Regions from separate parts of the Homo sapiens genome. Here regions 1 and 3 are each linked to region 2. Evidence: promoter capture Hi-C in 16 types of primary human blood cells and fetal thymus (Javierre and others, 2016). All regions are on one chromosome and are shown on one strand. The core of a region is centred on a gene start or on the middle of the fragment in contact, and the rest is flanking DNA. Distances in the headings are between cores, read along the strand shown.

The links. Contacts are between HindIII fragments. The CHiCAGO score rates a contact against its expected background, and 5 or more counts as called.
Region 1: a contact is called between the fragment with the promoter of GORAB here and the fragment with the promoter of AXDND1 in region 2, in 1 of 17 cell types (non-activated CD4 T cells). The highest score is 5.9, in non-activated CD4 T cells.
Region 3: a contact is called between the fragment with the promoter of METTL13 here and the fragment with the promoter of AXDND1 in region 2, in 2 of 17 cell types (total CD4 T cells and naive CD8 T cells). The highest score is 7.2, in total CD4 T cells.

What each region holds. Positions count from the first base shown.
Region 1 is chr1:170,530,836-170,533,535 of GRCh38, reverse strand. GORAB (golgin, RAB6 interacting) reads right to left here and starts at 1,370. Exons shown (of 5, transcript NM_152281.3): 1 at 1,252-1,370. The coding sequence starts at 1,312. GORAB-AS1 (GORAB antisense RNA 1) reads left to right here and starts at 927. Exons shown (of 3, transcript NR_125958.1): 1 at 927-1,088. The HindIII fragment of the contact is 10,464 bases long and covers 1-2,700 here.
Region 2 is chr1:179,364,538-179,367,237 of GRCh38, reverse strand. AXDND1 (axonemal dynein light chain domain containing 1) reads right to left here and starts at 1,267. Exons shown (of 26, transcript NM_144696.6): 1 at 1,238-1,267; 2 at 632-834. The coding sequence starts at 728. RefSeq lists enhancers at 867-936, 1,317-1,716. The HindIII fragment of the contact is 9,843 bases long and covers 1-2,700 here.
Region 3 is chr1:171,780,402-171,783,101 of GRCh38, reverse strand. It overlaps METTL13 (methyltransferase 13, eEF1A N-terminus and K55), which reads right to left and starts at 1,442. Exons shown (of 8, transcript NM_015935.5): 1 at 982-1,442. The coding sequence starts at 1,134. RefSeq lists enhancers at 1,096-1,629, 1,459-1,753. The HindIII fragment of the contact is 1,150 bases long and covers 1,055-2,204 here.

The DNA.
Region 1 (2,700 bases), core at 121-2,620, 8.8 Mb after region 2:
TATCACATAACTTTGTGGTTTGTCTCCTCATGAGTCTACTGGAGTCAGACCAGAGGCCAGGGCACTTGTACCCTGTATATCAAAGTATGTGAATGGATGTTGAAAACACAAAGCAAAAGAATTTGAGTATATCAAGCAACACAGAGTCAGTTAACTACATAGCTTAGCCTAACCTTTATGATAGAGTTTTTAAAGTCCCCTGGACCAGTCAAAATGTCCCCAGTCGATATAATCTACATTGGCCCTATCTTACTAATTTACTTCTTTTCCCACTTGTCTGCCCTAGATTATTCTCATATTTATGCTAAAAATGCACAAGCTACCAGAGCAACATCCAATTTCCCCACAAACGCTAACAAAAGGTTTACTTCATTTGCTACCAAAATAAAGTATTTGAATTAAGGTACCAAGAGTGATGTACACTTCTTACAGAAATTGTGTGTACTACCACGATAACCATACAGATCACTGCGAAATTTCAACCACAAGCAAAGTGCAATTAATATTACTAAGTTTTCCACCAACAATCAGCAAACTTAATTCCTTCCACAACAACAAAAAAATTGTACAAGCCCATTCAATGATTACTCTATAAAGCCAGAGAGAGAAGCACAAGGTTAGCTTACTCCAAAGTCAGTAAGACTGTATGTATATAAACATATAAAGTCTTCACATCTACCCTCTCAAAGACCCTTTTGGTTTGCTGATTCTCAAAAATTGGGAAGTACTGCAAAAATCATCTGGCAACCAGAAGTGAATGCAACACTCCAGATGAATTGTGAAAAGTACCGAATTTTTGCCTTTATTCAGACGCCTGTGCTCCTTTTTTCCAACCATCTGCTTCTATAAATTCATCACAATTCTAATACGGTGTGCGCCCCTCCTCCTTCCCTTACCCTGACCCTAACCTTCCAACCGTTGATTCCTGCAGCAATCTTCCCTAAGGGAGACACCCCGGCTGTAGGCTCACTTCCTCTCCCAAGTCCCATTCCTTTCACAAGAGTCAAATCCCTACAGTGGATTCCTGGACCGTTTTTTCTAAAAGAAGATCCCAGTCCTCTGGCTTGCCCCTCCCGTCGTGACTCCCAGTAAGTCCTCCTCTGAAACCCCCTAATCCAGTCCACGTACTTACAGCGCCTTCCGCTAACACAAACGTAGCCGCTTCCACGCCCCCTTTCCCCGCCAAAGCTGCATCCCCGCCTCTTCCCCTTAAGACCCAAGAATTAAACCACTGTAAACCCATCTTGTAACCTTTAGTCTGCTTTAGTCTCCTCAGTTCCTCCTCAGAGAATCCTGCCCAACCTTGCGCCATCGGCCCGGGCCACCGGCACCCCCAAAAGTGCCCAAATCTCGCAGCCGCGACTGCCAACACTGCTGCCCAGCTCATCCGGGTTTTTCCCCGGCCGCGGCCAATCAGTGCATCGGGCTCCAAACACAAGGCCCTCTCTCCCCGGCCTCAGGGTCCGGCTTCCTTCCAGGCTGCCTTCAGCAGTGCCTGACAAACTGCCTAAGGAAACCTTGCCACGCAGACATTCGTTTCCTCTGGCTTACCTCTACTCTCTCTCTCTCTCATTGTTTCTCACTGTTGCTGGTTAATCGCTTCAGGAGCTAAGGGGGGAAATGGCGATGGGGATAAGGGTGGAGATAAACAGGTATTTGGGAAGGAGCAACAAGTCGGTGGCGGAAACGGGAGATCTAAGTGCCTTTGGGGTCCTGTACCTGTGGGGCGGGAGCGGTGCTCTCTGTGGCTCTTAGTGTGCCCTAAAATCCTTGTGTTTTGCTGGGAGTGTGCACAGCGCTGGAGGCCTCCTTCAGATTAACTCAGGAAATGATCAGATTTAGGATTTTGATGATGAAGAAACATTTAAAAGGGGTGGGGTATAATTGATGAAAAGGGAACAGGCATAACCAGGTCTCTCGCAGGCCGGAGCGGCTCTCAGATTTCTTTTGCTTTGGGTTGTTTCCTTTGTGAATAATTATAATATGTAACTTTCCTCTTAAGGGATTTCTTTTTCTTTTTTTCTTACTTTTTTTTTTTTTTTTTTTTGAGACATAGTTTCGCTCTTGTTGCACAAGCTGGAGTGCAATAGCACGATCTCGGCTCACTGCAACCTCCGCCTCCCGGGTTCAAGCGATTCTCCCGCCTCAGCCTCCCGAGTAGCTGGGATTACAGGCGCCGGCCACCACACCCGGCTAATTTTCTGTATTTTTAGTAGACACGGGGTTTCACCATGTTAGCCAGGCTGGTCTCGAACTCCTGACCTTAGGGTATCCGCCCGCCTCGGGCTTCCAAAGTGTTGGGATTACAAGCGTGAGCCACTGCGCCCGGCCGGGATTTCTTAGTCTCCCCTTTAAATCTGTTTTTCAGAGAAGACATTGTAAAACGTCGGTGCTGGGGGATGGGAAAGCATTTCTTAGGATCCTGCCTGGAATCCTAATACCGTAATTCGGGTTCTGCCTTGAACACTAACCTGAGATCCCATTTCCTCATTTGAAATATGGTTGCAAAGATTAAAAGATGCAAGCGTTGTCAAAATACACATAGATAAGGATGATTCAAGAGAGACCTAGTTATACTATTTTTCATGGTTCTCTTTCACTATTTTTGCAGTAAGAACAACAAAACACCTCATCTTGGCTTACATTTTAAAATACTTTGGCTTTAGTGTGTTGATATTTTTAAACAAAATGAAAGAAAGG
Region 2 (2,700 bases), core at 18-2,517:
TTTATTTATTTATTTTGAGATGGGGTCTTGCTCTTGTCTCCCAGACTGGAATGCAATGGCTCGATCCTGGCTCACTGCAACCTCACCTCCTGGGTTCAAGCGATTCTCTTGCCTCAGCCTCCAGAGTAAGCTGGGACTACAGGCGCGAGCCACCATGCCCGGCTAATTTTTGTATTTCTAGTAGAGACGGGATTTCATCATATTTGGCCAGGCTGGTCTCGAACTCCTGACCTCAAGTGATCCGCCCACCTCGGCCTCCCAAAGTGCTGGGATTACAGGCGTGAGCCACCGCGCCCTGCCTCACTATTACTTTTTCCAAAGTTCCTTAAAGCCAAAGACCAGGAACCAAAAAATACGTAACTATTGATATTTAAAATAGGTTGAATTTAAAATCATATATAAATCAACATTTGAAAAAAAGTATAAACTGTATTTAGATGGAGTAGTGAAACAGTACTCTGACTCAAAATACTGTAAAAGGAATGACTTCTTGCTTTATTTAAGCAAGTGTGTTAGAAAAATGTAGCCAATCAAGGTATTCTGAATATCAGATTTAAAAAACCGGTGAATGGAAGGTGATTTCTGTCTTACGGCCATGACTGTTTATGACTTCAGAATCAACGAAGTTTACCTCTTGTCCCTTCCTTGGCTACAGACACTTTTAACTTTTTGCTCTCAGATGTTGATGTAGAGTTTAGCGGGGTGGAGGGCGTTTTCGGGAGAGACATAATAAACAATGCCTCCTATCTCTTTAGTAATTTGAAATAGTCCTCCGGAAAGCTAATTTAGACACAAATCAGCGCCGCACTGGGACTTGCAGGCTGCCACATAGTCCTGCAGGCAGAGGAAAAAAGATTTAAAAAAAAAAAAAAAGATGACAACTATTGAGTACTTAGGTTCAGATCGCAGTTTAGAATTCATCTAGCATGGTTCTCCTTCTTCGGGGCGACCTCTATGTTCTGGGGTTATGTGTAGCGACTAAGAAGCCTTAGTGGACCGTCAGGTCGGGGTCAAGGAGCAGGGCAGGAAGGACCCGCTCGGCGGACCCCGCAGACCGCCGGCACCCCTGGTGGGGGACACTCGCTGCAGGCGGCTCGGCTGGGGACCATACCTTCCCCACAGGCAGCGCTCTCGCGCGCCAGTTCCACAAACTCGCGAGTTGGGCAGGCCTCGCACTGCTTCTTGGTTTAAAATGACGGGAAAGGGACACCCGCGATCCTACCCACACATTGCGTACCCGCCCAGCATCCGCTCACTTCCTCCTTTGCTGGAACGCCTGTTTGTCGTCATAGAAACCCAGGGCCCCGAGGTTTAGCGCCCTCCATAGGGGCTGCCTTCAGCGGTGCCGGCGGAGGAGGGAGACAGCTAAGACAATCCCTACACCCTCTTGGAGTTTCTTATGTTCTAAGTCACAGCATAGGTTCAGTAGCAAAGGAGAAGAAAAACGTTTAATCCCGCCGTTGTCACGGAATCCGAAAGTGTCTCACGCCGGGGCTTCCTGCCGCGGGCCAGGCCAGTGCGCAGGCGCCGGTGGGGGTTAGCTCGAGGGGCCGACCCCTGTAGCCCGTGACGCACGCGGGTTAAGCAAGGGTCTTCTGAGTTGTTTCCATCTTTCTAGCTCTCTTTTTTGTTGCTTTGCATATTTTTCTTTCTCTTTCTTCCTCTTTTTCTTTCTTTCTCTTTTTTTCCCCTGAGACGGAATTTCCCTCTTGTCGCCCAGGCTGGAGTTTAATGGTGCGATCTCGGCTCACTGCAACCTCCACCTCCTGGGTTCAAGCAATTCTCCTGCCTCAGCCTCCCAAGCAGCTGGGACTACAGGCAGACGCCACCATGCCCGGCTAATTTTGTAGTTTGTTTTTTGTTTTGTTTTGTTTGAGACGGAGTCTCGTTCTGTCGCGCTGGCTGGAGTGCAATGGTGCGATCTCAGCTCACTGCCACCTCCGCCTCCCAGGTTCAAGCGATTCTCCTGCCTCAGCCTCCCGAGGGACTACAGGCGGGGGCCACCATGCCCGGCTAATTTTTGTATTTTTAGTAGAGACGGGGTTTCACCATATTGGCCAGGCTGGTCTCAAACTCCTGACCGCGCCCGCCTCGGCCTTCCAAAGTGCTGGGATCATAGGCGTGAGCCACTGCGCCCGGACGCTTTGCATATTTTTCTAAAAGCCAGACTCAGGGGGATGTTGGGTAATAAGAAACGCTGGGTCCCTTATTGGGTAAGCCGTCCAGTGCTTTACATTTCGGTCACGTCTTCCTTGGACCCTTAAATGCCTCCCCCCAGAGCACAAGGAAGGCCTCCTGGGCCCAGATTTTTCACCCCCTTGGGGCAGGGAAGGAGGATTGAGCTTAGGTGGAACCAGCTCAGGTATAATTGTCGGGGCTTCTGGCGTGAAAATCTGCCCTCAGGAAAGAATACCATCAGCGGCCGGTGGCTCACGCCTGTAATCCCAGCACTTTCTTAGGCCGAGGCGGGTGGATCACGAGGTCAGGAGTTCGAGACCAGCCTGACCAACATGGTGAAACCCCGTCTCTACTAAAAACACAAAAATTAGCCAAGAGAGGTGGCGCGCGCCTGTAATCCCAGCTACTCAGGAGGTTGAAGCAGGAGATTCGCTTGAACCGGGGAGGAAAGGGTTGCGGTGAGCCGAGATGGCGCCACCGCACTCCAGCCTGGGCAACAGAACGAGACTCCGTCTCAAAAAA
Region 3 (2,700 bases), core at 193-2,692, 7.6 Mb after region 2:
GACCACCTGGACATGATCTTGGGCAAAAAAAAAAAAAAAAGTGGCTCTCGGGGCCTCAGTTTCCTCATCTGTAAAATGTATGCATGGCCACTCACCTGAATTTATGATGAGAATTCAAAGATTGCACATGCACATACACAGCACCCAACATAAGGCTTGGCACATAAAGCTTCCCCACAAATGTTAAGTTTTCTACCTTCCTCCTTCCCTACCTCCAGTACAATCTCACCTATACCAAACCCATTGTTGTACTTATCACGTTTCACTTCTGGAACATGTGCAGGGTTTACGTCTTAATGCTCTTATAGTTTAAGGACTGAGCAGTGCCTGAAACTTGGGGCGCACTCAACGACTATTTGAAAAACAAATTCATACACAAAGTCACACCTGCTGCAGGTTGCACAGGAATGCACAGTGACAGAAGAACATACTTTCAAGATGGGAAGTCACTCTTCAAGTAGGGTTATTAATCCAAGAATGAGCTGGGGTGGGAGGTCTATTATCTGAAAACCTTTAAAGAAATGTTTTTTTTTTTAGACAGGGTCTCACTCTGTCACCCAGGCTGGAGTGCAGTGGCGTGATCATGGCTCACTGCAGCCTCGACCTCCTGGGCTCAAGCGATCCTCCCGCCTAAGCCTCCCGAGTAGCTGGAAATACAGATGCGCGCCACCACGCCCGGCTAATTTTTTCATTTTTTGTAGAGACGAGGTCTCATGTTCCCCAGGCTGGTCTTTAACTCCAGGGCTCAAGCGATCCTCCCACCTCGGTCTCCCAAAGTGTTCGGATTACAGGTGTGAGCCACTGCGCCCGGCCTGAAAGAATATTCTAGTTTGTCTTTTAGCAGGAACAATGCAGGAAATGCTGAAATATGCGTCCAACTAGGGTCCTCCCGCCTGTCACTGTCCACCAAGTGCAAGATTCCTGTTACCAGTTCCCACCTTCCGGAGCACGTACGAAGGGCTACCAACCCGCGCTCCTCACCTTTTCCCTGGGCTTGATATATTTATGTAGCACCCCGCACAGTTCCAGGTAGGTTCCATACCACTCGAAAGCTTTCTTTCCTCGCTGCTGGAAGAACTTCTCCCAATAGTCAACGGAGCCAAACTCCCTGGAACTTTTAGGTAAGAGGTTCATGTTCCTACTGCCGAAGCTGCGTTTTCAAGACTCCCCTATTCCCTGTGAGATACCATTTGAGGAGCTTGCCCACCACACGCAGGCTCCGGGACACTGCAGTGGGAATTCTTTCCACGGAAAAACAGCCACATTGATTTGTTCCCCCACTCCAAACCCCAGGAATGACCCTTACACGACAAACGCACGCATGGACCACTGAATCTCACACACGCTTGCCCCCTCCTCCGCGCCTGCTGTTCCTTCCCCACGTGAAGAGCCCCTCACACTTTTCCCGAACTAGATTTCCGAGCCCATAACCATATCCGGGTGCGAAGCCTCGTGATTCGTCGGCCGGCCCAGCCCAACTCAGCTAGTCATTGGTCGCTGCTTTGCGTTTCTATCACCTCATTGGCTGCGACGTGCTTGCCTTTCTCCGGAGGCTCCGTCGCAGACACCTAAACGCTTTTTTGACCTGAGGCCGGCCGACCATTCACGGAACGGGGCGGGACCGCGGGCCGGAGTTGTGGCGGAAGAGGCCGGGCCTCTGTGAGAACTAGGTCACGTCCGGGTGAGGAGTGAGCGCGGCTGTGCTGTGGTTGGGCCCTCCCTCCAGGCGGGGCGGAGAGCGCGCTTGCTTCCTGGGCTCGGCCTCCGCTTTGTCTTGGAGCCGGCTTAATCACTGACTCCGATCGTGCGCCGCACAAGGGCGGAGCGCGGCAGGCGGGAGCGTACTGGTAGAGGAGGACGAAAAGAAAAACCTATACAGATAGGAGAGAAGTGAGGCAGGAAATGAGTAAAGCCAGTCCGTCGTAAAAACGCTGCACATTCTAACCTTGTCAGCTTCTGCGCACCAGCACCCCCCGCCTTATTTTGCCACCTCTGCACCAAAATATAGGATTCTGCTATCAAAAGTGTAATAACATGAAAACTCCCTCTTCCTTCTCTCCGCAAAGCACAGCATGCAAAACTAGCCTTTCATTTTGATAATTGGCCTCCTTGTGTTATTCTGACGTTATTTATAACTGCTTATTTTATGTGTTTGATAAACATACTGTACTTTCACATGCTCATGCTAATACCCTGAGGAAGCTTCTGTGAAGGGCACTTTTTTTTCAGACAGGGTCTGTCTCTGTCGCCCAGACTGGAGTGCAGTGGTGCAGTCATGGCTCACTGCAGTCTCCACTTTCCAGGGGTCAGGGGATCCTCCCACCTCAGCCTCCCAAGTAGCACGCCACTACCGCTGGCTAATTTTTTTTTTTTTTTTGTAGAAATGGGGTTTCGCCATGTTGTCCGGGCTGTTCTCAAACTCCTGAGCTCAAATGATCATCTCGCCTCACCCTACCAAAGTGCTGGGATGACTGGTGTGAGCCACTATGCTGGCAGGCACTATTTGAAAATGACCAAATATGTGTATCACTGGGCCTTTCATACCATGATAAATTGCAGGAGGAATATACTGATTGCGGAGAGCAGATAGGCTTGGAATTGAGCATGTGTGCTGTGGGCTGTTACATACTACACTACCACAGGTAGATAGCCAGGTAGACTGTTAATAGTTAAGTAGGTTAGATTGGACTTAAACATTGG